7 separate regions of the Homo sapiens genome follow, and regions 2, 3, 4, 5, 6 and 7 are each linked to region 1. Evidence: promoter capture Hi-C in 16 types of primary human blood cells and fetal thymus (Javierre and others, 2016). All regions are on one chromosome and are shown on one strand. The core of a region is centred on a gene start or on the middle of the fragment in contact, and the rest is flanking DNA. Distances in the headings are between cores, read along the strand shown.

Evidence for each region. The method cuts DNA at HindIII sites, captures the fragments that hold promoters and counts their contacts. A CHiCAGO score of 5 or more calls a contact.
Region 2: a contact is called between the fragment with the promoter of CPOX here and the fragment with the promoter of ARL13B in region 1, in 3 of 17 cell types (non-activated CD4 T cells, activated CD4 T cells and total CD4 T cells). The highest score is 8.3, in non-activated CD4 T cells.
Region 3: a fragment that was not itself captured here is called in contact with the fragment with the promoter of ARL13B in region 1 in 1 of 17 cell types (non-activated CD4 T cells); the score reaches 7.0 in non-activated CD4 T cells.
Region 4: a contact is called between a fragment that was not itself captured here and the fragment with the promoter of ARL13B in region 1, in 1 of 17 cell types (total CD8 T cells). The highest score is 6.9, in total CD8 T cells.
Region 5: a fragment that was not itself captured here is called in contact with the fragment with the promoter of ARL13B in region 1 in 1 of 17 cell types (total CD4 T cells); the score reaches 5.5 in total CD4 T cells.
Region 6: a contact is called between a fragment that was not itself captured here and the fragment with the promoter of ARL13B in region 1, in 2 of 17 cell types (naive B cells and total B cells). The highest score is 7.1, in naive B cells.
Region 7: a fragment that was not itself captured here is called in contact with the fragment with the promoter of ARL13B in region 1 in 1 of 17 cell types (total B cells); the score reaches 6.1 in total B cells.

The regions. Positions count from the first base shown.
Region 1 is chr3:93,978,240-93,982,462 of GRCh38, reverse strand. It overlaps ARL13B (ARF like GTPase 13B), which reads right to left and starts at 2,308. Exons shown (of 10, transcript NM_001174150.2): 1 at 1,981-2,308. The coding sequence starts at 2,039. RefSeq lists enhancers at 2,141-2,270, 2,541-2,700. The HindIII fragment of the contact is 5,745 bases long and covers 1,666-4,223 here.
Region 2 is chr3:98,591,434-98,595,656 of GRCh38, reverse strand. It overlaps CPOX (coproporphyrinogen oxidase), which reads left to right and starts at 2,046. Exons shown (of 7, transcript NM_000097.7): 1 at 2,046-2,708. The coding sequence starts at 2,153. RefSeq lists an enhancer at 1,508-1,557 and a silencer at 2,058-2,507. The HindIII fragment of the contact is 5,536 bases long and covers 1-3,006 here.
Region 3 is chr3:98,525,703-98,529,925 of GRCh38, reverse strand. It overlaps CLDND1-AS1 (CLDND1 antisense RNA 1), which reads right to left. Exons shown (of 2, transcript NR_198998.1): 2 at 4,039-4,223. Among named protein-coding and RNA genes, the nearest start is that of GPR15, 4.2 kb to the left of the region's middle. RefSeq lists an enhancer at 1,018-1,561. The HindIII fragment of the contact is 4,844 bases long and covers 93-4,223 here.
Region 4 is chr3:98,036,586-98,040,808 of GRCh38, reverse strand. No RefSeq gene overlaps it. Among named protein-coding and RNA genes, the nearest start is that of GABRR3, 3.4 kb to the right of the region's middle. RefSeq lists an enhancer at 1,170-1,464. The HindIII fragment of the contact is 344 bases long and covers 2,118-2,461 here.
Region 5 is chr3:97,981,689-97,985,911 of GRCh38, reverse strand. GABRR3 (gamma-aminobutyric acid type A receptor subunit rho3) reads left to right here. Exons shown (of 10, transcript NM_001105580.3): 10 at 1-810. Among named protein-coding and RNA genes, the nearest start is that of RIOX2, 11 kb to the right of the region's middle. The HindIII fragment of the contact is 988 bases long and covers 1,228-2,215 here.
Region 6 is chr3:97,825,550-97,829,772 of GRCh38, reverse strand. The region is part of intron 1 of CRYBG3 (crystallin beta-gamma domain containing 3); the gene reads right to left. Among named protein-coding and RNA genes, the nearest start is that of CRYBG3, 5.6 kb to the right of the region's middle. The HindIII fragment of the contact is 2,343 bases long and covers 1,292-3,634 here.
Region 7 is chr3:97,757,865-97,762,087 of GRCh38, reverse strand. EPHA6 (EPH receptor A6) reads right to left here. Exons shown (of 18, transcript NM_001080448.3): 18 at 556-4,223. It overlaps LOC124906256 (a long non-coding RNA gene), which reads left to right and starts at 3,871. Exons shown (of 5, transcript XR_007095973.1): 1 at 3,871-3,959. The HindIII fragment of the contact is 1,619 bases long and covers 1,089-2,707 here.

The DNA.
Region 1 (4,223 bases), core at 1,059-3,558:
TAAATCTTTTTTCAAAGCCCACTATGTATTAAACATACACTTACAGCATCTTAATTCAGACTAGCCACATTTCAAGTGCTCAACAGCCACGTGTAGCTCGTTGTTACCCTACTGGACAGGACAAATCTAGATGGTGCTTATTAAAGAAGAAAATACACTCTGGGTTATGCAGCTAAATTTTAATAATGCTTTATTAAGAAAATTCAATTATCTGTTCTACTTGGAAATCAATACATTCTCCTTTCTCTGAACTCTTCTCTTTAAACAAATCATTCCAGAGAGTATATATACAAAAGCTGCTAAGAAAAGGAAAGACTAAGAATGATGAATTAAATTGAACACTCCTTCTTCGAATTACACGTTTTCACTGTTTCTCGTTAAAAGAACGTAAGTTATATACATGCCTTCACAGAAACCAAATACATTTCTTAAAAGCAGACACGGAGGAAAATGAGGGGTCAACTATTATGAATGACCCTCAAGTCTTAGTAGATACTGTGAAATTAGACCAGAATATAATTAAAGCAAATAAATCAGAATCTATGCACCTAAAACAACTCTTTGACTTTTTTCTTTTTTTTTTTTTTTTTTTTTTTTGAGACAGGGTTGCACTGTGTCACTCAGGGAGTGCAGCGATATCGGCTCACTGCAACCTCCGCCTCCCAGGCTCAAGTGATCCTACTGATTCAGCCTCCGAAGTAGCTTGGACTACAGGCGTGCGTCACCGTGCCCGTTTATTTTATTGTAGAAACGGGGTTTCGCCATATTGACCAGGCTGGTCTCGAACTCCAGGGCTCCAAAGATCGGCCAGCTTCGGCCTCCCAAAGTGCTGGGATTACAGGCGTGAGCCACCACACCCAGCCCATCTTTGACTTACAGAGTTGATCTTACTACTTATATTTAAAACATTCAAATTCAGTTAGGAGCTAATAATGGGGAAGAATCTCTAGTTTCATTTAAAGTTACTTTTTTTCCAATCTAGACATGTATTTTCTGTTATAATGTGTAAGTGTAGCTTTTCAGATTCATTCTTTAAAGGATAGTTCATTCTCATGGCAAATATACTTAAAATGTTAACAATTTAAAAAAAAAAACAACTTTGCTTTATCTTACCCTTGGCCCAATTCCAGACTAGAACTATGTGAAGTCAACATTATTTGTGTAACAAACACAAGATCTCTTTATAGGTTAGGCCTCAGTTTCAAAAGCATCAATTTCACTGATTATTTCCTAAGACAGTGCCTGGCACAAGGTATTGTCTTAATAAATATTTTTTGAATGAATGAATATCAAGTAACAGGTACTAATTATTAATACTTCCAGCATTTCAAAATGAAATGTTAAAAAGTGGACCCTTTCAATTAAAAGGTTTTACTAGAGACCGTATAAAAATTGGAAGCTACATTACAGTTAAGAAAACACTATCACTTGTTCTCATTGAATACAATATTTCTAAAGCAGAGTATTATCACTCTCATTTAATATTTAAGAAAGGTGGGGCCAAAATGGTTGAGTCATGTAATTATTAAGTAGTGGAGCCAGATTTCAAGCCCACGTCCTCAAATACAACTGTGTGGAGGTGTGACTTGGAATGGAATGTGCGGATATTATGAAAACTATATTCCATGTCCCCCTCTTTTTAAAAGAATTTCCATTACAAAAGCTTCAGAGGAAAAACACACAATGGATAGTTTTCAATTCCACACACACACACACACACACACACACACACACACTTTTTAACAAATTCAAACCTATTTAAAATATAACAACGGTAAGCATTGTCAATCGCAACAGAAAGTCGACCAGACAACAAGGCTACATCCTCCAATCTCTCCCTCCCGGGACACCCTGGGAATGAAAGCATCCCTTGCGGCCTGGGATAGACTCGTCCAGGCGCGGGGAAAAGGCGGCGCCTCGCCCCTGGGGCGCAGCCATCTCCAACCCCTAGGACGGCCAGGACAGCTGGCTCCAGCCTACCTGACAGGCTCCCGCCACCGCTTGAACCAGCCGCAGCAACTGGCCATCAGACTGAACATCCCGGGTCGCTCCTCCCACCACTTCCCATCCGAGCCCGGAGCGGACACCGGCACCCCGCTCTTCCCCGGGGGCCTCCGGCACTCCGAGACGCCCCTAAAGTGGATAAGTCGGGAGGAAAAGCCGGGAGGGAAGTGAAGGCGGCCGGCCCGAGCACTAAGCCTTGCTAACCGCGTGGGTCCGCGACGACTGCCCTCTTAGCCAAGGAACAACCTGACCAAAGACGCAGATACACCGTAGCCGAGTTAGCGGGACCCGGCTAAAGAAAAGCCCCGCGTCGACGTGCTGACGTTACTTCGAGGCGCGGAAGGCGTTCCCCAGGCAACGCCCGTACTGCGCTCGCCCAATCATCGGTTGAGGTCCTGAGGTAGAGGCCTCTGAGTGGCTGAAGAGTCCTGGCTACCCGCCCCTGCGCGAGACTAGGAAAAGAGAAAGGGGAGTACTCTATAAGAAGGAGGCGGAGCTCGAGGTAGCTCGTTCTCGTAACTAGGCAACCGGAGCGTCCGGAGATAAGCTGGAGGATCCGGGACAAATCTCCAGCAAGGCCTATCTTTATACCTACATAAAATGTGTTGCCAATCCACGGTGCTGTTCCTTTCCTTTCTCCAGTGTCCCCAACTGAGATTCAGAGATCTCAGGTCTTGTGCATGGGTTTTTCTTTTTCTTTCTTTCTTTTTTCTTGTTTTTTGTTTGTTTGTTTTTTGCTCAGGGATGGGGACCCTCTAGAATTCTGGCCGACTTAGGCAGCATGACTACAGGAACAATACACTGGGGCAATTCTTGTAAGTTAAAGACAAGGGGGAAATTCGCTTGCTAAATTTTCTCAGTAGTTCAGATGAGAGTGAAGCCTTAATCTCTAAAACGTTTATTACTGTTACATATGTGAAACGGAATTGTATGATATTTGTTGTAGGGGGGATTGTGATTACAAAAGAAAAATGCATTTCTTGTAGAAAATGTGAAAAATACTAAAAAGAAACAAGATGAAGAAAATGAGATCTCACAGGAGCTCTCAAAGATAACCATTTGGGGCCGGGCGCGGTGGCTCACGCCTGTAATCCCAGCACTTTGTGAGGCCGAGGCGGGCGGATCACGAGGCCAGGTGATCTAGACCATCCTGGCTAACATGGTGAAACCCCGTCTCTAGTAAAAATACAAAAAAAAAAAAACAAAAAAAAACAAAAACGGGTGTGGTGGCACGCGCCTGTAGTCCCAGCTACGCTGGAGACTGAGGCAGGGGAATTGCTTGAACCCGGGAGGCGGAGGTTGCAGTGAGCCGAGATCGCGCCACTGCACTCCAGTCTGGGCAACAGAGCAAGACTCCGTCTCAAAAATAAATAAATAACCATTTTGATGTATGTTTGTTTCAGGATTTTTAGGTACATAAATTGCTGGCTATTTGGTATCTGCAAGATGAAGATTGTTATCTCTTGACTGTTTTGTAATAGTTTATTTTTTAAAGAGGTATGTAATATTTGCATTTCTTTTATATACTTTGGAGAAAAAGAAATGACAAGGACATTCCTGTAGGGAAAAAATTATGCACAATATGTAGGGATCTGTGTGTCCATTCATTTTCTACTTAAATAAATATTTTCAAATCCTGATGAAAGGATAGAAGGCACTGAGAATCCCAGTGTATTCGCGGGGAATATAATGATTTGAGACTAAGATACATATAGGTTTTAAATTAGTCTCTGTCCTTTACTAAATCATGTAACTTTTTTTGGTTTTGTTTTGTTTTGTTTGAGACAGAGTCTCCCTCTATCACCCAGGTTGGAGTACAGTGGCATGATCTCGATTCACTGCAACCTCCGCTTCCTGGGGTCAAGTGATCCTCCTTCCTCAGTCTCCCAAGTAGCTGGGACTAGAGACGTGCACCATCACGCCCAGCTGATTTTTGTATTTTTTGTAGAGACAGGGTTTCATCATGTTGCCCAGGCTGGTCTCAAACTCCTGGCCTCAAATGATCCGCCTGCCTCGGCCTCCCAAAAGTGCTGGGATTATAGACATGAGCCATGGCACCCAGCCTCATGTAATTTTAATTCAAATTTATATACATCTCATACAGCTTGCTATCTCCAAAATACTGTGCCTTATGGGGAACAAAGGGGGTGATACCTTTTCTTCTCATCATAACAGTCACAGCCAACACTCATATAACAAAAAGAATAGCAAGAGAAAAG
Region 2 (4,223 bases), core at 797-3,296, 4.6 Mb before region 1:
ATTTAAACTCACACTAACAAAGTTATTGAAGCCTTTCTTAAGCATTGAATAACAGTTTGCCAGTAGGGAGGGTGCTAGGAACCAGAGGAAGAAAGGAGTGAGGCCCTTCGTATAGAGAGGCTAAGGATGAGAGGGATGGAAACCTGGAATCTAGTATGCAATTTGCTCAGGATCAGCCTTTGTGACCGGGCAAATGTTCAAAACAGTCTGTTCTTACTTAGCTTTAACTAACTTTATGGGCTTTACTAACTTTATGGGTATTTTTAGCAGAATTAGAGCAATAATGAGGGGGTTTCTTACAAATAAACGTACCAGGGAGGTTCCTTTTCATTTGATGAGGTTCATTTATCATCACCAGGCCCAGCCCAACCCCATCACAGGCATCCAGTAGAGGCCATCAACCCTTCCTACAATGACAATTCTTATTTCCCTTCCTCCACTTCTAACTTGGCCTCCTGGCAGGTTGCACTATGACCAAAAGCTAATTGTTTTTCTTCCCTAAAAGTCGCTTAGTCACTTCTCAATCCAAGCCTTTACTTTTCACAGATTCTCAGTGGTGAGGCTTCGGCAAGCACACCCACCTTGCTAACATCATGTCCCAGTGAGAGCTGCCAGGTACAGTTGTGTGTGGACAAGATGCCAATTGATCTGACTCAAAAGCCATTGAAGTTCCATCAGTGCATCCTGCCACAAAGAAAACACTTGTGGGAAAAGCTACCAGTGGCTTAAATTATTATCTACTACTAGAAATTAAAATCATCCCGGAGACTTATGGGACAAATTAGCCCATGACAATAGTTCTCACACTTTTACGTCCAGGAACCATGGAGCTGTGGTATGGTTACAGGGGAGACAAAGACCTGCCTGTCAAATCTATTAGCTTCTTTCCTCATTTCTTTAAAGGGTGGGGGAAGGGAGACAGAGTAGGAGGAAGTGTGGATATTTGCCTTGCCTAGTTTGTAGCAGTTGTTGTAAGTATTAAACGTGAGCAATATTTGGGAGCACCCTACAGTAGTAGAATAACTATTTTTTAAATTCTTATTTGTTAATCACCAAAACACACCAAGTCAGGAATTTTCTACTGGTTAACCAAAACAGTCACGTTGCTTTTCCTTTTTCTAAAATAATCAAGTAGGCACTATAGAAGCAAGGCCTGGGGAAACCTTTTTTTTTTTTTTTTTTTTCTGAGACAGAGTCTCACTCTGTCACCCAGGCTGGAGTGCAGTGGTGCGATCTCGGCTCACTACAACCTCTGCCTCCCGGGTTCAAGCGATTCTCCTGCCTCAGCCTCCCGAGTAGCTGAGCCTACAGGTGCACGCCGCCACGCCCGGCTATTTTTTTGTAGTTTTAGTAGAGACAGGGTTTCACCATGTTGGCTGGTCTCGAACTCCTGACCTCATGTGATCCAACCGCCTCGGCTTTCCAAAATGCTAGCATTACAGGCTTGAGCCACCGCGCCCGGCCCCAGCCTGGGGAAATCTTAAGGACAGAACTGTGATGTGGACTCGATCACAGAAAGTCTTCTCCTCGACTCTCTTCCGAGTCCATTACTAGCTTCTCCCACTCTCTTTAGAAAACCATCCTTCAGCAAAGAGTTTCCCAGCCTGCCCATCCCCTCTAAAAACTCTAGAGGACCAGGACCCAGGGCGAAGGGCGGGTCTATACAGATCCTGAGCCAGGCTCTGTATTCGCAAATCCTGTTTGAAAATGTAAGCGGGACTGGGATCTCTGCCACATTTCCGCCCCAGTCCGCCCTCAGCCTCCCAGCCCTACTCTATCTTCTCTCCTTGGCTGAGTAAACAGCCGACCCGAGGTTGTACGTGACAAGAAAGCCTCTTTTATCTCTCCCGTCCCTTCCACAGCACCGTCCCCGCCCCACTCTCTTCCCTTCGGACCAGCCCTTCTGGGCGCGTCGGATTCTTATCTCCCGCCCCGCGCAGGGACGCCGCAGGCGGCGATAGGATCCGGACTACAGCTCCCAGCGCGCCCCAGTTCCCGCCCCCGCCTCCGGAGCCCGACGCTGCAGCGGCTCTTCTCGAAAGGTTCTTTCCGCCTGTGCAGCTCGCCGGCTCAATACTCCGGGGGTCTGGGTGGGGGGCTCAAACGCAGGGCTCTGGGACGCAGGCACTGCTCCAGGTGATAGTGCGGGAACATGGCCTTGCAGCTGGGCAGGCTGAGCTCGGGCCCCTGCTGGCTCGTGGCGCGGGGCGGCTGCGGAGGGCCCCGCGCCTGGTCCCAGTGCGGCGGCGGAGGGCTCCGAGCCTGGTCCCAGCGCAGCGCAGCCGGACGCGTCTGCCGGCCCCCTGGCCCGGCTGGCACGGAGCAGAGCCGCGGGCTGGGGCACGGCTCGACGTCGAGAGGCGGCCCCTGGGTGGGGACAGGGCTGGCCGCGGCGCTGGCGGGGTTGGTGGGGCTGGCCACCGCCGCCTTCGGGCATGTGCAGCGGGCGGAGATGTTGCCTAAGACCTCGGGGACGCGGGCCACTTCGCTGGGGAGGCCGGAGGAGGAGGAGGATGAGCTGGCCCACCGCTGCAGCAGCTTCATGGCCCCGCCTGTGACCGACCTGGGCGAGCTGCGAAGGAGGCCGGGCGACATGAAGACCAAGATGGAGCTGCTGATTCTGGAGACCCAGGCCCAGGTGTGCCAGGCTCTGGCACAGGTAGACGGGGGCGCCAACTTTTCTGTGGACCGGTGGGAGAGGAAGGAAGGTAAGGAGGCCGGCCCCTGGCGGGAGTTGGAGACAGGGAAAAAGGGTCAGGTTCCAGGTTGCAGACAGAAAATATAATAGTTCACAATATGGGATGGGGTAGGTAGGGGGTACCCACAGAGAGGCCGCTTGGTTAGAGGCCGCTGATAAAAAGATGGACACGAAAGGGTCACTAGCCCTCTGCTTGCAGGTATGGACCCGGATCAGCTGTCACTGTAGTACTGCATTTCAAAATCTTTGCAATTCCGTAGCAGCATTTTTTTGTAGAACTCTTAAGGGGTATTTGCAGCTAACAAGCTTAGATGTCCAAAGTTCGTTACTGAACATAAATTTCAATAGATTATGGAACACATTTTCTCTCCTTCTCTGGGTGAATTTGCCCTTTTTCCTCTTTAGGAGATGGAAAGAACTCATCTCCTGTGCGCTAAGTGTCGGCTAAACTCCTCCAGCCAGGATGTCATTGTGTCAGAATCTTCCCACTTCTTTTTACTGTTACACAAGATATATTTGATTCGTTTCTCAGTAGCACTACCAAATGCACGCATCAGATTTCCTGCTAGGAAAATCTTCTCTTCCAATATCAAAATACTTGAGCATCAAAACCCAGTTCTCGTAGAGGCGTACATTCATGACCATGTTGTTGCCCATACAGTGAAACCCCACATCTTGAGTGGAAACTTGAAAGATTCCTGACTTTTCCTAGCTGGAAATACAACAGCAGCTTCTCACCGGCAGATTTTGAGCTGTGATACTGACACATCTATATTAAATGAAGTTCAGTCTAGTTTTCCATCTTATGTTTTCAAGCAAAGACCACTGAACCAGGACACAACCTCAAGTACTAGACCAGCTGTGTGATCCTCAGAAGTTACTTTTTTATGGCTGTTTTCCCATCTATGAAATATATATGTATTTCATCTCTTTTAATCCTCATACTACATATATATATATATATATCCATATACATATATATATATATATATGGATGGAATATATGTGAAGTGCTTAGAATATTGTCTGAAGCATAGACAGCATTTAGACAAATTGTTGCAGCCACTTGTCAGCAGTTTGATCTTGGATAAGATGTTTTGCCCCTCTGGTCCTCAGTTTTCTCATTTGGAATATATGAGGGTTGTACTGGATCATCTTATGTCCCATCCAGCTCTAAATGTTCTTAGAAATAAAACAAGCCAAACATGAACTTTCATGAAACATTGCCCTTGCAGTGACCCTAATACCTTAAGAAAAAAAATTAGTAAGGCTGATACACGTGAATACTAATGTGCGTCTCACTCACTCTAAGGTTCTGAATCCCTTCAGAATTTGATTACCTACTGTTTCTTAATTGCTTGTAAATTAAAAGGCAAGCAGCCCACTGAGAAAGAAATTTTTGAAACAATATAGATCTCTTAAATTCAGTAATAATAGAACACCCTTCAAGTCTACCCATTCCTATTTTTAACCTTAGCTTTCTCTCATATATCATAACTGATAGATGCCATTCTGAACAGTAGAA
Region 3 (4,223 bases), core at 1,265-3,764, 4.5 Mb before region 1:
CATATTCTTTACTAAATATAGACTACAGATCAGAGAAACTAATTAACCGCTTTGACATTTCTGGGACAGAAATCTTTCCCACTGGGTAAGCTTTAATTATTTAATAGAATAATTCATTTTGTCAAAAATTGAAGTAGGACAATATTTACTCAAAAAAGATTAATAGGGTAATATAGAATATTTAAACATATCATCTATATCTGTGTGCCTGTGTGTTAAAGTACTAATCATATATATTCTTTAAGTGTACTGAAATTTTAATATTAGAATTTTGTACCCTACAATCATAAGTTCTTTTGGCATTTGAGAAAATAAGGTTGATTCTGGGTCTACGGTTTTTCTTCTTTTTTTTAATCCTTTGATATGTCTCAAGAATTCAACATAAAGGTATTATAAAATGGAAAAAGAGTTCATGCTCATACTGTAGAGGAAAATATTTGGCTGCACATTCATTCTGTATCCCTTAAATTTTTTTTTTCAAATTTCAAAAGTTGCTGGACCGCTGATGTAAACTATCTCAAATCCAATTTCCTCAGCAAACTATTGAAGCAGTTGTAGATAAAATAGTTTGCTTTATCATTATGTGGCCACCTTGAAGTATGATATTTAATGGTAGAATGTTACAATGTGAGAATACCCACCTTGGATCAACAGCATCTTTGTACCCAAATCAGAAAACAAATTAAATGTTTTAAGCCAAAAACGTTCACATAGCATAGTGCCAGTCTTTTAGTACCTCAGAGTACAATGCTAGTACAAGACAGAATCCACAATAAAGCTGGCTAAAGTGGGGTTGTAAATAAGCTGGTGCAACGGTCAATTTTAGGACTTTGAGTTTTCTTTAAAATAAACATGAAGATACTAACAATAAAATAGAAACCTACACATAGATCAAAACTCAAAAGCAACACTGGGTTCCATAAACATATGAAAAGTCAATGTAAACAGAATGATGGCAAAAAAAAAAAGAATAATATATAAGTATTAGTAACTGAATTAGAGCATATATGCCACATCTTTGGAATTCTTTTTCTCAGAAAATAACACTCAACTTTCCTCCATGACTCCTGGCAGAAATAACTGCTTCTTCCTTTGTATTTCCTAAGAACTTTAAAAATACTGGTTACAAAGTACTTGTCTCTTTTCACACTGTTAGTTGTCTTTGTATCTGACCCCTGGAGCTGATAATGAGCAACCTGAAGACAGAGTCCATTCATTATCTCTGGACTGGCCTCTAGCATACAGAAGTTACCCAACTAAAGTTCTTTTAGGACTCTTAAAGCCATTGTTTTGAACCTGTGGATGCCAGATCGTTTTACCCAGATTAGAGTCATCAGGGACACCTGCTGAGCTGTAGATTGCCAGACCCTATTCTAGATGTCCTCAGTCAGAATCATTGGGGAAGAAGTCTAGGACTTTATATTTAACAAGCATTCGAGGTGATTCTTATACACACTAAAGTTTAGAATCACTGTTCTAATTTATATAAGTTAACCAACATTATATATTATGCTTTGTTATTATTTTGACTAATTTTTAAAAAAGGCTTAAAAGTTACCTCAGAATTTGAAATTTGTGGAAGTCTTTTAGTCTGAATATCACAAAATTTGAGGAATTAATTTAGATTTCTAGGCCCTGCTTATTCTATGTTCCAATTCCTGAGTTATGCTCAGAACTGGTTCAGGTGTTGAAGATGAAGACAGAGAAAGGTTTTCTCTACTGAAACATCTGCTTGAGTGAATCCATTATTATTTGCTGTGGCTTGCAGCCTCTGCTTCACAAGCAGGCTGAAGATTTAATAATAGAGCCACCCCTATTAGGCTTATTGAACTTATGATTATATTACTTCGGCCTCTTCCCTGTCAACCACCATATCAGGTGGAGACTCATCAGATTACATGCATATAGCACAGAAGAAAGAAATCCCTGGATACGAAGCCTTTGATTCACACATGCTCTGCTGATATGTCCCAGAATAAATGGCAAAGAGCATGAAGCAACTAATTATTTCTCATTAATCTCATCAGTCAAACGGTGTCATTATATATTCACTTGTTAGATACATTATCTTGTCCATTTCTTAAAGTGCAAAGTCAAATAGTTAAGTTTAAGAAAAACGATTATACTGTTTATACTCTAGGAGTTTATTTTTATTTTTAAATTCTCAGTTACTTGGAGAATTTAGTACTATATAATGTAATATCACATCATGCCAAACTAAGTGGCACGTATTCATTATTATGAGGGCCCCCCACTTAATTTACTGGCTTATTTCCATTGGTAACTAATATATAGATAGAAATGATGTTACTATTCTAGGAATATATACTTTAGATTTCTTCGAAATAGCAGATTTAATCTGAATTTAGGTTGTGCATAACAAAAATTATGTTTATTTATGTTGGTGTCCTTGGCATCCAGCAGAGTGTCTGGCAAGCAATAGATGGTCAATAAATGATTATAGATCTGGGATGAATCATGCTTGAATTTTGAGTTATTTCCGCAGAGTAGGGACTTTTCACAAACTTCTTAGACAGCTTCCATTTTCTATTCAGTCCTGGGATCTTTGTCACATCATAAACTAATATGAAGAGATGTTTCTAAGTTAATGCAGCACATTTTTTGTCAACTTATGCTTATGTTTTCACTTGGCACATCTTGTTGAATCAGAAGCAACTTGCAAACCAATAAATGTGAAAAATATCATTATCATGGCCTCATAATAAGTATGACGGATAGTGATGAGAAGAGGACTCTCTCAATGAAGACTCTTAAGTTTATTAATAATTAAATTAATTGATTATATTAGTTTCTTATCTGCAATAAGATTTTTTTTTGAAAAGTTATTTTTGGGAGGCCCACAATTCATACTCATAACTCTATACTAATAAGTGTCAATTAGAAGAAATCAGAAAAGTTTCCTTCCATAATTTTACCTTCATAATTACTGTTAATCTTTGAAATAGCAAGGGCTGTTTTTCGGTACCTTTTCTAATCAGAATGCATATAGTCTTCCTCCTTTTCCTTTGCAATCTACATTTGCCACTATCTCTGCTTCTAGTACATTGCCTAGGCTTGAGGTATAGGGTATATAAATTCTGCAATGAAACTCTAATGCTGTGGATCTATGAAAAACCGTATTTTGTAGTTGCATTATTCTTCTTCCAGTAGAATTATAAACTGTAAAATTTTAGAGCTTCAAGTGGTGTTAATGATCATTAGTACAACTGTTTTACTAAAGAGGACCCTAGGGTCCAGAAAGGGGTCATTAACCAAAGATCCATTGATAATTTTTAAATAAAGGATAATTTAAACTTAAACTTCTCATTTACATATGGGTCATTCACTGTCTTTCAGAAGCATGGGCATCTAAAAATTATAGTTTTTTACTATATGTGGCACTTTACAGGAATTACTAAAAAAAAAAAGGAGACATTTTAGGTGCACTTTTCTATTTGCCTTGATCTTGATTCTGTTATTGTTCTACAGTGAATGGGTGCAAGGAAATTCAAAGATAGGTACATTTTTAAAAATGGTTTTTGGTTGGAACCCAGAATTGTACATATTCCCATTTTTTTCCTTTCTGAACTCCAAAGTTCACAAGGGAAACAACCAGAAAAAAAATTACATGAAGAAACATAATGTAAATATATCTTATAATGTAGATATAACTTTTAGTTCCTAAAAATGTGCAATTAAAAATAAAATATTAAATGTATTGGGGAATTTAGTATTGATGGAAATTCTAGTGTGAAGGGTTGTTTCATAAGTACATAATAAAAACAAGTTACAACATCTGAGTATCTAGATTTTCAGTTATCGGTTTTATTTTAAATGTGCTATAACTATAATGCCTTCCGGTTGAAACTAGAACCATCTTTAACAAGTTAAGCTAGATGTCTCATTTAACTTCGCTTTTAAACCTAAATTCCATAATCTCTACATGGTTGCACAAAATCATCTTTCATATTTGTGAAAATATAAGGCTAGCTACCGTTTCTCAAACAGCAGAGTAAGAAGCAGAAGTAGAAATTTAGCTCCATTAATTAATTAAGGATTTATTTTACCTACTCATACAACAAGCAAGCATAAATAGAAATTAGGAAACACCAAAGATGCAGAGATAAACCAGAAATACGGTTGTGTGGTTGGTGAAACTGGGTGTGAAGAGGCCGTTCAGGTCCTCTCTCAGGATGATCAAAACCACAAACACGTAGAGACAC
Region 4 (4,223 bases), core at 1,040-3,539, 4.1 Mb before region 1:
AAGTAGCTCTGAAGCAAAAAACGAAGAAAGATTTTGAAAGGGAGTAATTAAAGATGACTCAAAATCTCAATCCTGGAAAACAGGGACCTTATTGGTAATCTTAATGAAATTCATAACATTGGAAGATCATACTACATTAATAAAGATGCATGAGATTGATAGCTGATATTAATTTTGTCAATTATGGTATCTTCAATGTATCAAACATTGTGCTAAACATACAGTCTCATAAATTCTGACTTTAACCTTAAAAGATAGGTCCTAGTATTATTCCTCTTAACTATATATAAAGTAACTGACTCAACAAAAAATCTTAGGTCATTTTCAATGTTCAGACAAGTAGTAAATGGAAGAATAGATGTTTGTACCCACAAAAACTGACACCAAATATCCCAATAAAGATTATCGCTATTGTCTCTTCTTAACCACTGTGTTTTATTGCTTCCTCAGGGGTCTCAAAAGTCACCTACATACATGTGCTTAATGAATACAGAAGAGGAAATTGAAGTCCAGGAAGTTTAAGAAACTTTTTAAAAATCATGCAGTAAGTACCATATCCAGTCCCAGAGCCATGTGCCCTAGTGTTTTATTTAGTGCCCTTTAGAAACTTTACTCATAACAGGTACTTCATTCTAATAGAAAGCTTATTTTTCTACAATGTTCACCTCTGTCTCTTACCGTTCCCACAAACAAAATGCTGTTCTTAGGTGTAGGTAAAAAGTGAAATCTTAAAAATAAATTAGTGTTCAATCAGAGAAACCAATAAACCTCATTAGTCAATTATTCGAGGTAAATAATTGCATTTTCCTCAATAACGGGGTGTGTGGGTTTTTTATCTGAATCATTTGGTATTATATCATTAATCTTTTCAGTTCATTCTGCCAGTATTGGTAAGTGAAAATTATTCACTACAAGTGCTGAATAATTTGCATTTACCAATACTACATAAGAAAGTTTTCCTAAGGAGGCAAATTCGAGACAATAGTAATTTGGATGAGAATGTGTATCCTATGCTTCCATCTAGTGGTGGTCTTGCGCTATTACACGATGATGAAGACTGCTTTGCTTTAGTGTCATCCTCTTGCCTGTAAAACAGAGCAAGATTCTTCAGGTGTCCTCACTCGTATCACAGCTGATTCTGTATGCCAGGAAGGATGTGATAAGAGACTGAAACAAGGGTCGTGGGGGGGACGATGGTCTACTGGGTATGAAAAAACGATGATCTACTGGTTATCTGGTAATTCTGGGAACTGGAGAGGAAACAGGATTTCTGAGTGAGAGCAGGGTTTTTTGGAAGGATAGCAAATGCCCCCTACTGGCTGCTCTAGGCATGGCCAGTTATATTTCCAATGCATCAAAGCAAAACAGTTACGCGCAATTTGATGACGGGGACAAACTCAGAGAAATGCGTTGTTAGGTGATTTCCTCATTGTGCAAACATTGTAGAGTATACTTACACAAAACTCTATGGTCTAGCCTACTGCACACCTATGCTATATGATATTACTCCTAGGCCACAAACCTATACAGCACGTTATTATACCAAATACTATAGGCAATTGTAACACAATGGTACGTATTTGTGTATCTAAACATGTATAAACATAGACAAAATAGAAAAGGTTCAGTTAAAATGCAGTATAAAAGATGAATTGTATAGGGCACTTACCATGAATGGAGTTAACAGGACTGAAAGTTGTTCTGGGTGAGTTAGTGAGTTGTTCTGGGTGACTGAGTGTGAAAGCCCAAGACATGACTGTACACTACTGTCAACTGTACACTTAGGCTATACTAAATTTATACAAAATATTTTTCTTTCTTCAATAATAAATTAACCTTAGCTTATTGGAGAACTGCAGTCATATATGTGGTCCATCACTGACCAAAACGTCGTTGTGCAGCACATGACTGTAAATATGAAAACTAAATTAGTTGATCACTTAACCTCTCTAGTCCTAGCTTCCTCTGCATAAAAGAGAGCAGGAGAGACATTAAATGTAGTCTAAATGATTTCCAAAAGTCTTTCCCTATTAAGATTTTATGACTCTACAATTTGCAAATCAAGATATTTTGCCTAGATGACATCCTGCAGACACAGTGGGAAATTTATAGAAGCTTGGAATTTGTTGTTGTTGCTGTTGTCAGATCCAGTCTAAATAAGACCTTAGCTTTTCTTTTGTTTTCTCTTTATAGGCAAAATAATGGCTACATACCCCAAGATTGGCGACACAGCCATCCTTTCCAAATTTTCTCTTTATGTCGCTGCCAAAGAAATAAAAACTGGCTGACTGACATCATCAGAGTGGAAGAAGAGTAAACAGGAGACAATTTATGCAAGGGAGAGCTTAAACTACTACGAAATTCTCCAGTGACCCTGTGATTCATTTTGTTTCCTGGTAGTTACCACTTTCTAGTTCTGACAGATGTGCTTTTCTGCTTTTTTTTTTTTTCTTAAGAAGCTTACTGAGCTTGCAAAGGGAAGCTCTAAAGGAATAAGGTTAAGGAGCTAACTCAGCATCAACAGAGGCAGATGCCTTCTTGTAATTGAACTAAAACCCTTAGACTTTCTGTAAGTCAACTCTCTCTAGTGTAAGCCATTGCCTTATTTTTATTTTTATGCAGACCATTTCCCACTTAAAATTCATCATCAAAAAACAAACTGCTTTTATTTCTTCCTTAATGTTTATAGCGATATAGATAGTCTAGCAAAGATTATTCAGTAAAGAGGTCAGACAGATTCTCATCATGATTCATCCCTGCGATGCAGAAGGAGACACCAGGGCATCCTAACATAATTTAAGTGACAGTGAGGAGGCATATGACTTGACAGATATTTCCGAAAAATAAGTGCCCCAAATAGCTCCACTGAGTCCTGTAAAGAGGACATCTTCTATTCCAGTGCTTCATTCCTTCAGATCAAAGACCACTTCGTGAAGTCTCCTCTTCAATCTTGCTTATTCTTTATCAGCTACCAATATTTCTTTGCGAACGTAAAAGTTTAGCAGTCATCAAAGGTTGTCTCAAGATGATAGGACACAGAATTTTGGTAAGGAGAATGTGCAAAGCACCAATTTGCCTATAAATGAGAATCTCACTGATTTACCTATGAATGAGAACTGGCTGTCATGGAGGAGTACTATTTTGGGAGAATGTAAGTATCGTGGTTTTCTTTTGTTTTGTTTTGTTTTGTTTTGTCTTGTTTTGTTTTAAAATGGGATCTGAGATCAAATAAGTTTGAGAGACACAGAATTCAGCAGAACAAAGCAGGCTTTTTTTTTTTCAACTGAAGCCTTGAACGTGTTAATATTCATTCATTATTTAAGAAATATTTACTAATACCAACTATACTTCAAAGATAATTATAAGTGTTTGGGATGCCTCAGGGAACAAAACAAAGATCACTTCCTTGCAGAGCTTACATTCTAGCCGGATAAGACAGATTATGAACAATAAACATAATGTAAATTATATAAAACATGCTAAGCAGGATGAAAGGTAGATTGGTAACACAGGTTGTAGGAGGAAAGAAAGAATACGGTATTTTTAAAAAGAGTGGTCAGGGTATACTTCATTCAATAGATGACATTTTAGCATACATTTGAATTTGTTAAGGGAGTTAGCCATATAGATATCCAGATGAACAATATGTCAGGCAAGGGTGACAACCAGTGCAAAGGCCCTGGGGTAAGAGTGTGACCCCTAACAGAGTAATAAAATGTATAATGTTTCCCAAACTCATTTAGTACATAACAATTTTTCACAAAATGCCTTCAGTGTAGCCAAGAAATACTTTGGGAAATGTTAGTGTAGATGTTGCTTACTAAGTGAAGAGGGGACGAGGTAATAGATAGTGCTAGGGCCGAGGGGTTGGTGCCCTGGATCTCGTAAGAGCACTGAGGTGGAATGTACTGAAACAAACTTTGACCACAGTGCGGTCTTCCAACAACCAAAGTGACAGTAGCTTAAGATGGGCAACTTTTCCTACATTTCTTCCATTGGCTCTTCAAAGAAGGCTTACTGGCTCCGAAATACCTGAAGAAAATGCTTCAACGTTTCTAAACATTACAGAAATTAAAATTACAATACTGATTGAATTACTTAACATTTAAAAGTCTGATAATACCAATGTTAAAAAATATTTTAAGAAATAAGAACTCTCATTCACTGCTAGTGGGGAAGTAAATTGGTACAAGCACTTTGATGAGCAATATGATTGTGCTTAG
Region 5 (4,223 bases), core at 472-2,971, 4.0 Mb before region 1:
CTGGGCGACAGAGCGAGACATCATCTCAAAAAATAAATAAAATAAAAAAAAATATATATATATATAAAATATTGTTTCATGTATTTGTGAGCATAAGTGGAGAGGGGAAGCTAAACTTCCACTTATTCTTCTCATTCTAATGTTAAATTAATACATCAGTCATCAATAATAACATCTCGCATTTTGTAGATCATGTATTGTTTTCACAGCTTTTTAGAGGTTTTTAATTAATCACTTTGTTCAACAAATGTTTATTGACCACCTACGTGTGCCAGGCACTTCACTAAGTGTTATGTACTGAAAAAATGAATATGAAATAGCGTTCCTGCCTTCTCTAAGTGCATAGCCAACAGGAGCAGTGAACTGGAGCTATAAAACATGTGACGAATGTTAAAACAGAGGTATGTACACTGTCTGGTGTGAATTCTGAAAGGGGGATACCAAAGAAAGGAAAAGAACATCTCCAAAGGGATGTGGACTCTCAATTTATAAACAACTGGAGATGCTTCCAGATATTGTATTGAGTGAAAAAACTGAATGAAATGTATTTATCCCATAGTAATCCTTAATATCTTTGGTCGAACCAAGTAAACCAGGTCAAGTGGGTATTAAATAAATTTTTGTTAAGTAGGAAAACCTCCTATGATCAGTGTTCATTTTGCAGATTGGCAGTGTGCATGCTTTTGTTTTGAGTATTTTCTGAACAAGATTCAATTTAAAGAAAAGCCCTTGGCAGGAAATATGAAATATTCCGATACCTATTTTGATTGCTGGGATTGAATTAAGAGAAATAAATTAAATGGTGTATTACTTTCAGTGTAATTCCTTTTATTTCACCATAAAGTAAATCAAAATGATTTGAATTACTTTTTCACCAGGTGAAGAGACAAAAATTTTCTGCTTTTTAAACCAATAACATTGGTTTTGATCCTCCGTTCTGAATCACAGAGGGTTCTAGAAAAGTATCTTCCTCCTGGGTACAAAATATCAAAAGGAAAATTATTTTTCTATTATGAATTCCCTCACAGGTAGGCTAACTCTGGGATACTTCATTCTATTTTCTTAATACAACTTTTCCAATTCTTTTGAAACTTCCCAAGGATTATATTTGTATATGATACTCTCCAAAATTGAGCTAATATAATGTATTAAAACCCTTCTCCATTTCATTGTAGATAGACCATAAATAAACTTCAAAAAAACTATTTATTTAATGGGTTTTAAGCTTGATTTAATAGTAGTATTTTGGTAGGATTATATTTTCAAAATATAGCACAGATTAATATTCTAGATGGCCAGGAATTTATAGCTATTATTTAGCCTAGCACTGCAATTGTATTACATTTCTGATTTTGACAAAACCAGATGTTTAAAAAGGGACAAATATACAAATGAACAGAATAAATCTACACTGTTCTCTTCAACCAATACTCAGCTTCTTCAGGCTTTTCTGTTTTTTTCATATACTTTGAAGTATAACATTCAATATGTCGAATGCTTCCCCTGGGCATATTCATTTCCCTGTTTTGAATCAAATGCATCACTGAATACATTTGGCAATCTAGTCTAGGAGAATGGGTCTCTATCACACCCCCACACTTGGCATTCCTCTGGAGGAGCATAAATGCACATTTGTTAGCCAATCAAATGTAACTTTTGTTAATGGCTAGCAATACAGGCATTGTATTCTTCAATAATGTACATCTAACACTGAAAAAGAAAATATGTTTACTGCTTAAGGGAATTATTAGAGTATTTGGAATGAGCTCCTAGGAGTTTTGCCAGTTTTCTTCTCTTGAGATTGGTGGCTTGTGAAGTCTGTGAAGAGAGGACTGTTTCCATTAGCTTCATTTCTCCTCGGGAGCAACAAGATTTCTGTTTGGTTCTTACTCCAAGAAGAATCAAATCACAGTTTACCTGAAAATTATGAGAGTGAAGACAGCATATAAGAGTTACCTCATTTTGATTTTCACTTCATTTATTCATCACAATCCTGAACAGATTGTGCATGATTGTTCACTGAGGGATAAGCCTGGATAAAATGCAAGGATTTCAGAAAATAAGCTGCTTTCTATGATTAAGAAGAAGCCAGCTCGCTCTGTAAACGGCCTAAATATAGAAATGGGCTATTTTATAGGAACTACTTTGGAAAACCCATGAAATAATATACTTTAACTTAGTTTTATTGTTTCTGTTCTGGTTAGAAAATAAAGCTTCATTATTTAAAAAATTTTAAATATCCACTGGCAAAAAAAATCATCTACCCAGAATTAAACAGTTCACATTTTAATGTACATTCTTAGAGGTTTTCTGTTCATAATTTACATTTTTTCAAATGGAACACTTTTGTAAACACTTGTGTTTATTAATCTAAGCACTTATATCAAGGACTGTCTGCTGGGGATACAGTAACAAAAGATGGACATGGCTCCTACCCTTATTGAACTTACATTGTGTTGGGGAAAGTGTCTATTTGTAGCCAGATTTTCTTCTCTGTTCCTGAAAACTGATTTCCATATGCTGCAGAGCTGTTCACTGAATGGGTGCACCATAGTTTACTTCACCCATCTCGTCCTGCAGGACATTATTGTCATTTCCTATTGTATGCTGTTACAAATGGGTTGCAACTAACAATGTAAAGAACACTTAGAAGTAAAATTATTTTTGATACAAATGAAATGTCTAGCCATATTCAAATTTCTGCACTTATTTCCTTCAGAAGAATCCCTGTTTGCAACTAGAACCTGCCGTGTCAGACTCACTCATGGGTCTGCCTAGAAGCTCTGAGGTGTAGATTACTGTAACTGAAGAACCTTTTAAATTTTTAGTTCATTTTTCCCCATGAAGCAGAGCCTTCTTATATATATCTGCTGGCATTCCCTTTTCATAATGGAAGTTTCTGCATTGTCTAAAATACTTACATTAAAGCAGTCCTATGTATTGAAAACCTGCTTCTTTCCATGACTGCTATCACCGCTACAAGCCTTTGCCATCTTTCTAAGTAAGAGAGTAACTGAGATTGCAAATATTTGCATATGAGTTGCTACAAAATCATAACTAGCCTGTGACTACATTGTCTAAATCCTTGCAGGTGAGTTAATCTTCATGAGTAAGGTCTATTGTTCCTTACTGTGCCACTTATAAGCCTGTTCAAATCACACACACACACACACACACACACACACACACACACACACCTCCCTGTACATACAATTTTTTTAACATGGAGATGAATGAGAGAAAGAATTACGTCTATTTATATCTATTTCTGTAACCATTATTATGATCAACATTTCAATGAGAATAAACAACACCCTCAAAGAAGCAAGAGAAAGAAGTGACATGAAAACTGCTATTTCAACATCAATTCTGTACTGGTGCTGCTGTTATTTCTTGGCAAGGCCTTAGGCATAGCAGTCAATGTTATATTCCAACTACCTCATTTATGGAATGGAGCCACCTAGTCTTTCTCTGTAAACACTGCTTTAAAACACTCTATCACACTATAGTGTCTTGCTTTTCCAACTGCAAATTTTTTCTTTCCTGGATTTAACAAATAACTTAAACATAATTTTTTTCTCTTTTAAAGAAACCATGAAAAACAAATGCACTGGACATTTAAGAAGATGATTTTTTTTCAGTTTATTGCAATAGAAAGGGCATTTATTAATGATAAACATCTCAAAGAAAAGGAAGGAGGTCAAGGGCTTCAAAGAGTCAGGTATGCAAGCGAGTCACATTCACTGGGGAAGGATAGAGGTGGGTCTGATCTTGGAATATGTGAGAGTGGAGTGGTCATTTCTCAGAATACAAAATGTGGCGGGGATTTCCAGACCTTTGATACTTTCCAGGAACACACAGGATCAGATGAAGTTCAGCATTGTCAAAACAACATTGTCAGTTGTTCCTTCCTTTCAATCCCCTGCTGAATCATAACGCTATTTTTGGTCAATGATGGGGCCAAGTGTAGAAAAGAGATTTCACAAAGTCACTGAGAAAAAATTATAACAGTTTTCTTTTTAATATATTGATATTTAGTTTGTTGTAGGAAAGACCGAGCTACATTTTATTATTGGTTAGATTATTTGAAGGATTTGCTGTTACTCTCAGTTCTAGGATCAGTACAGTTGATTATAGAAACTTATTTTCTGCAAGAGTGTTTCAAAGGTTTTCTACAAAATTGTGGTGCTAGCTGACCACTCCTTACCTTAGACAATCAAAAA
Region 6 (4,223 bases), core at 1,214-3,713, 3.8 Mb before region 1:
AGGCAAAGACAATGCTGCACCTTGTTAACTGCTGGATTCCCAGGACCTAGACTGGTGCTTGACACAGCGACACTAAATTAATTCTTTTTAAACACAGGTGAAGCTTTCAAATCAAATAACCAAAATGTTAGGATCACATGGAAGAATTAACCAAAGCATTTTCATATGTGACTTTTCCAATAAAATATAAATCTTTCTAATTTATAAGGCACATCAATTTTGTACACACTTAATAGCCCATGGAGTTTTGGCTGGTACGCTAAAGCTGAGAGAGACCTTAGAGATGAAAACCAACTCCCTTGATTTATCACTAAAGACTCTGAGGTTAATAACCTGTCCTGGGTCATACTGGAGAGGTCAAGGTGGGTGACAGGTGAGCACGTAAAAATGAGTTATGTTGATATATTTGTGGCTGCAAGTGTCAACTCCACCCAGTTTCACATTAGAGATTAATAATATAGAAAAGTCTCACTCCTACTTGTACAAAGTGTCAAAATATCAAATTACTCTGCATTACAAAAACTACTTCTGTTTATTTATATCCTTAACTGAAACTTTTCCCCTTTGAATAAGTTAATGTAGTGCATTCTCTCTCTGGAGGATTTTTGCCAACTCAGGATCATACATTCTCTTGTTTTCTTTTTTTTTCCTTCTTTTAGCCACAGGTATTCACCAGATTTTAATCCAATCTTTTTCTTACTTTATGAAATAGGTAATTCACATAATTTTTAAGTGTACAAAGGCATAAGACAGTCTTTCTCCTGCCTCTCATCCCTTCACTCAGTTCCCCATACCCCCAAAATAAGTTATGCAACACTAGTGACAGATTTATTTCATATCCCCTTCTTTTGTATATACAAATGGGGCATACTATACACAATTAGTTGTAGCTTAAGTTTTTTTTTGTTTGTTTGTTTGTTTTTGTTATTTTTTTTTTTTTTTTTGAGATGGAGTTTCACTCTTATTGCCCAGGCTGGAGCACAATGGTACGATCTTGGCTCACTGCAACCTCTGCCTCCCAGGTTCAAGAGATTCTCCTGCCTCAGCCTCTGGAATAGCTGGGATTACAGGCAAGCACCACCACACCGGCTAATTTTTTTTGTATTTTAGTAGAGATGGGATTTCACTATGTTGGTCAGGCTGGTCTCAAATGCCTGACATCAGGTGATCCACCCGCCTTGGCCTCCCAAAGTGCTGGGATTACAGGCATGAGCCACCACGCCCGGCTTTTTTTTTTTTTTTTTAACTTAATGTATCTTGGAGATATTTCCTTAACAGTACATAAAAAGCTTTCCTATTCTTTTTGGTAGATACATCATATTTCACTATATGGATGTACTGTGATTTATCAGTTAGTCCACAATTGAATGGCATTCTACTCTATTTTTCATCTTTTGCTATTAAAACAATGCTGCAATGACTAACTTCTATAGGCAACTTTTGGCCTGTTTGCAAACTGTACATGTTCAGTGGAATTCCCTGAAATCAGAAATGCTGAGTATGTGAATCTGCAATATTGATAGGTCATATCAAATTTCTCTCCAAAGTGGTGTATCAATTTATACTCCCACTAGTAGTGTATAAGAGTTCCAGCTTCCCCACATGAAACTGGAGTTTTGCTTATCAAATAGGTAGAATATGGTATCTTGCTATGGTTTCCATCTGAAACTCTCTTTTGAAGGAGACTGACCCTTTCTTTGTATTTAAATATAAATCTATAACCTGCATAAATGTGTGCATTTATTTTCCTCTCCCAACTCTCAGGAGTATAATTCTTGATTGTCCATAGCTCTGACCCAGTCCATCTGGGCAGATGTCCAGCTGCATGCCATTGTCTTTTATTTCCATTCCAAACCATTTTCTAAGGGCAGCCTTCTTTTACGAGTCTTCCCAAGTTAAGCGGAGGAAGCTGTCACATAATGCTGTAGGCTTTGAATTCAGGAAGGAAAACTTGACTCTTGACTCTACTACCAATATTGTGAGACTTTTGATTACCTACTGAACCTCTTGAAGCCTTAAATTATATATTGTAAAAGGGAGTAAAGATACGTTTGCTCTGAGGATTAAGTGAATTGATATTTTTAAAGTTCCAAGCTCAGGGCTTAATAAAGGGTATTAAGGGTACCCTTAATAAAGGGTAGGGCCTTAATAAAGGTTAGTTTGTTTTTGTCATCATTAATTGATTAGGAAGAAAGAAAACAAACACACACTTGGTTAAGCTCTTGTTTCAGTGCTTTAGCATACTTCCAATTAAAAACTCCTGGGAGTAAGTAAAACATTCAGGGACAGTCCTGCTGGATGGAGTTGTACCATTACTTGGCCACGTACAACTGCCAAATAAACACTAAGAATGACTTATTACTAGTGGAAAAACTTCGATTTGTTCTCTAACAGCATCAACCTTCCTGGTGTTTCTAAGTGCCTACTTGAAGGTTGGGGAGGGTACCACCCCTAGCTGAATGTTACTAATAAGTCCTTTAATGCTCCAATCAACAGTCACTCCTCACCTGAACTAAGGGGACGCAAAGATGAAGACAAAGCCCCTGACCTTGGGTCTAGCAATCCTGTCTCAACTTCTTTCCATCAAAAAAAAAGCACTGCCACTTTTTTGGAATGTTGATTCCCGAAGGGATGCCCTTTTCTGCCTCTATCCAGGACTTGCAAAGCCTGAAGGGTCAAGGAGGAAAGCAAGAGGAACCAAGGGGCAGCATTTCCATTCACCTTGATGGTGCAGTTACTATCATGTTTCCCCCACTATGCTGCCTTGGCAAAGGAAGCTAACCAAACCATGCTTGGAGAAAAGTTAATAATGTGAGAACATATTTTGAAAGCCCAGTTAAAGTTCTCATACAACGTATGACATTCGTGAAACATTAAGTATGCTCTGAACGAAACAAGTCACACACTCCAAAGACATGTTTGGTTTATAATGAGTTCATATTAAGAACAGAGATGTACACTTTTATCTCCTCCATTAATGTGTGAATTCTATGAAGGCATATTTGGTCATCCATTTATGGTTATATCCACATTGCTTTGCACCATATGAGACACAAAGCAGCCACTCTAACTTATGGATTGAACAGACTCAAAGTAGGTATTACCTCCTTAACTTTTACTTCATGCTGATTCCTTCTTTTCAGCATATAGCCTAGATTATTTTCCTTAATTTTACAACCACCTACAGTTTGTTGCTATCATTTTATTTAATAATTGGTAACTAACGTTTCTTATATCTGGACTTTGGTATATTTCATCAGAACTTTGGATAGAAAATATTTTGTCTTGAGGGAATATTTTCTCTTATTTTACAAAACTTGCTATTACCCTTTTTACATATTTTCCGCTGTTATGAGTAAAAAAACTTAAAAATGTTATAACTGTCAATAAAGTTAGAAGTTCTGATTATATAAACTTACTGCAGGTCAATTTGTGGTACCTTTGCAACTTTAACACTTTCAGAGCATACAATTGAGTCCATTTCCAAGGAATGTTCACAGCAAAAAATAGAATTCCCAAATTAGCCATCTGGTAGACACCTTATTGAACCCAAGAGATGGAAATCACTTGGAAAAGGTGGACTTTTGATACCCTACAACAGGCTATATTTTGACTCTGCTGCCAAGAGTAAGCTTTTGCTTTGAATTAACCTAGAGGAGCAGAGGGGGACAAGATTCTCACAAATTACACACCCCTAAAGACTTCTGGAATTCTCTCGTCATCTTCACTACTGAAGGCATGAACTGCTGATGTGACACAGGTATCTCCTATCCAACTAACTAGTTACCAATTATTTTTAGTGCTTCAAATCAATAAAAATGCAATCATCATGACAATTTAGAAAACAAAGCTTCCTTTCCTCACATAACTGATGCTGTTGTCAACACTGGTAGTTTAACCTGAAGGCCAATAGCTCTCCCATGCTGGTCATCAGAAGTACTACTGACATTTCTGACAGTACAGAGTACCTCCTACACCACAGCTCATTAGCAGCCTGGTCCCACCCATTCACCTCCTCTCACGATTTAGGGTAATCACTCTCCACTGGGAGTGGTATCACTCTCCCTCCCACCCACCTGGGTGGAGGAATTTTCAGTTATCCCAATGACCAGAGGATGCTACTGGCAATTAGTGTGTGTAATCATGGATACCAAACATCTTGCAAAGGACAAAAGAGTCCAGTTCAAAGAATTGTTCCATTCAAAACGCCCATAGCATCCATC
Region 7 (4,223 bases), core at 649-3,148, 3.8 Mb before region 1:
ATAACAGAAGATAATTTTAGGTACCTTCTCACCAGTTTTAATTTCATACTGGCTTTTAGAACTGTAGTAAGAAAATTATAAAAAAGAAAAGAGTCAGATATAATGAACACAGCACTGTTCTGATTAATTCAGGATACTTTAGCGTTATTTTCTCACCAGCAACTTTTAAAAGAATATAGATAATCCCTGATTTATAACTTACTGCAACTTTTTGGTGTAAACTTTGGTCTAAAGCTGTGTTTCAACAGTTGATGTTATGTGTACCCTTTTTTCATCTGCAATTTCTGTGCAGTACTGCCTCTGCAATGAACACTTTAATTTACTTGAATCTCACAAAATATTTTCCAATATAAAATCGCTACAAAAATATTTACTAGTTTTTTATAGTGATTTCTGTGAATTTATGTCTAAACCTAATGACATTATTTAAAAAATTTACAACTATGATTTTGCATCCAGAATTACTAAATTATCTAAACAGCATCTAGATTTATTAGACCAAAAAATAAATTGCATTAGATCTGCATAAATACAACAATACAAAAAAGTCACAAATTCAACCACCAAAGCTGTAACTTTTATTTGCCAATAGATATTTTAATAAACAGGCTTACTCCATCTGTAAGACCCTGATAATGCCTCTTAGGAAATCATAGAAAAATAAAATACAATAATTAGTAATTTGTACCTTGTACAAAAATCTTATTATGTTGCTCAGCAGGTAGTTTGCTAAACAGCATATTCTTTCAGCAAATAGATGACATATGTTATGCAATTCACCACAAACAACCCCTCATATTGAGAGCTGAGCATTCTATAACACTATTAACTTGTAAGCATGCCAGCACATGAAAATTTACATGGAAAGTTATTAATATTATAGTAGATTTTTGTAAGATAAAAATAGTACCACCTTCAAATAAGTCTGGACTACTTCACTGCTATAGTAAAGTAGATAATAGGTAGGATTGCAGTTCAATTGTTAACACCTTTTTACCTTGTTTATAGCTCTACCATATTGTGATTATAACCAGAAAAGAGAATGTAGGCTGTGTCAGGAACCTGAGTGGAAGGCATATATTGAAGCTTTAAATGGTGACAGAATACTAAAGAGAAAAACATAAAACAGTGCTATACTTCCCTATTCTCATAGATAAATCTTTTTCCCCTTTTGTAAGAGCAGATGGGTACAGAGTTAAATCCTTAATTAATAATAAATAGCTTCATGACAAGTTACAATGATGCTTTAAAAATCATATTTGTACTTATAGGGAGGGAAATTATTTTTAGCTGTCGTTTTTTATTAGTCAAATATAGCTCTATGAGGGATTAAATATCTCAACCTAGACATGTTATCTAGGTATTTTATATAAATATGCTATTTAGTTTGCATATACTTCAGGATTTGTGCTACAAAGATTTTATAACATTTTGAGTGCACTGCAATTGTTGATATCATCTACCATTTAAAATTTGATGCGGCCATTTAAAATTTAAAGTGTTTAATCAAATACATATGTATATGTACATCTATATCTTTATATTTTTGGCTATGCTAGAACAGCAAAAAATGGAGAGCAATCTCCATTATTCACAATCTAATTTCACATCAAATCCAAATAATAATGCATCTTTAAATTCCAACATATTGAATTACATACAACCTAGAGAGATATATATACACACATACACACATACATATGTATATATACATATGGTATATATACATATATATAATATATATATATATATCTCCAGAAACAAAGCACCAAGCACAATTAAAAGATCACATTCTTCCTATAGGATAGAGGGGCACAATGAACAACCAACCATATTGCCCATGTGTTTTCCGTAAATGACAGAAGGCATTGTTTTCCTATATGAAAACAAAATAATTTTTACTAAAAGATTAGTTCCTGTTTGTCTTTTATTTTAAAATTTACATGGGACCTCAATACCCTCCCAAATCGTGTTTGAAAAAAGTGACAGGTTGATTATGCAATATACATCTTTCAGGATTAAGCTAATTTTAAGTTTGATAGGCTTTGCATTATAACAGATTAGCTACAAAATGTTTCTGCCTTTTAATCTGTAATAGATGAAAATAAGGAAAACAGTATTTATGGCATTGAGAAGTTCTCAATCTCTACATTATGGAAAGGACTCTTACCAGAGTCCTTGGAAACCACAGAATTCAAAGTTTCGGGTCTTCCAATAAGATGTCTCAAAAATATTTAGTAAAGATGCCTTTAAAATATTTCATCAAATATATATTCACTTTCCTACTATCCAACTACTTACATATGTCTCTTCCAACCTATACGTCCTTCCCATCCTGCATATTGGCTTTTATCTCATTCTTGGTAAAATTAAAAAAAAACTTACGTAGTGACATCCTTCCCTTTCTACCACAAATATACCAACCTATTTGCACATTACACATTCTGCCTTCCTTTCATTGGAGTTCTATATTCCGGCACCTATCAAAAATTAACCTCCCTACTTATGCTTTAAATCGCAACCCCTCTATCTCTCAAGGCCTTTGTTACAATTATCATCTCTCTTGCATAATCAGTTTTCCCCTGTCTGCCAAGTCATTTTCATTAGTAGATAAATATGCTGTAGCATCCTTAAAAAACAAGACAATTCCTTGACTTCCTTTCTCCAGCTATTATCCTATTTCTCTTGCTCCCTTTACATCAAAGCTTTTTGAGAGAGTTGTTTATAGATAGTGATTTCACCTCCTTCCTTTACATCTCGCCTTAATCCATGTCAGTTGGGATTTGACTCCACTATTTCATAGTTGATAGTTGACTCCACTATTTTCATAGTTGATGACCTTGTGAAGGTCATCAACAACAACAACTTCCATGTTGCTAATTCCCATGGACATGTCTTTGTTCTAATCTTGACTTCTTAAAAGCATTTAATCCAGATGAGCAACTGCATTTCCTTTTTCTCTAGCTTACTTTATACTCCATTTCTTCTGTTTAATTCTAATTATCTGCCTATTAAACATTGGAATAGCATATAGTGCAATCCTAGGCCTACCTCCACAGGCTTTTCCTAGGTGATTTCCAAACTTTAAATAGCATATATATACTGATGCCTTCCAAATCTTGAAGTAGTGAATCCACCACGTTTTTGCTGGAATTACTCCAGTAGCCTCATGCGTATACCTTCTCCTCTTTTTGCCTCATTTCAGTGTACCAAGAACACTGTTCTCTACTCTCCAACACTCCAAATTTTCATTCATTAACTATCCCCCTCTGCTTGTAATTTCATTCATTAAATTTTCCCTCTGCTTGTAATGCTCTTCCCCCATATCTTCTCATGGATGCTTCCTTCATGCTTTTCAGATATCAGTTTAAATGGCATGTCCTTGGGGGAAGATTTCCTCTACCGCTTAAAGGAGCCACAGTCATGCTATGTAACATTTTTAATTATAAGCACAGCACATCACTATTTCTTCATTGTGTGTCTTTATCACTAGAAGGTCAATTCCATGAGACAGGGACTTTGCTTGTCTTGGTCACCATGTATCCTCAGTGCTTCGAACAGGACAATGGTACATGGTAGTGTTCAATAAACAGTTGAATGGAGTGAATGGACTTACAGATAAATATATTTTAAAGGTATGTCAGTATATGTATATATATGAAAATTTAGGAATTATACAATTTTGGACCAGTAAGGAGACATGATCTCCTTTAATTTGTTGTTGCTACGGTTATATTTGTTATATAGTTTAAAGAGGTAAACACTAAGCTTTGACTGATATTTTTGATTGTTATATTATAGATACCTTATTATTGCATTTAATGGTAGAGTGATCAAGGTTGTAAGGTAGGGAAAACGATTATTTTGTTTTCTCAAAGGTTTTTGGAAACTCTGAAGAAAATAAGCAGATTACACGTAAATGGAGTAGCTTTTCACTCTTGTTTGAAGTATCCTACTTGGTAAGATTTTACAAACTGAATAAGCAGTAAGTAGTGAGAAGTAACTATAAAAAATATATGTTCTTTTTTTGAATTTATAACATCCAGTGGAGAATTTTCATTTTGTATTTCCATTCATGAGAAGAGTTTGCTTTCTCTAGCAAATTTTAGGGGATATCAGACTAATATTAAATAAAAGAAGAATAACTTCAAAAAGAATAACTTCTAGCCACTGTGCTATGACACTTGGTTTCAACTTATTTGAGAGTTGGAAACTTTCAAGCA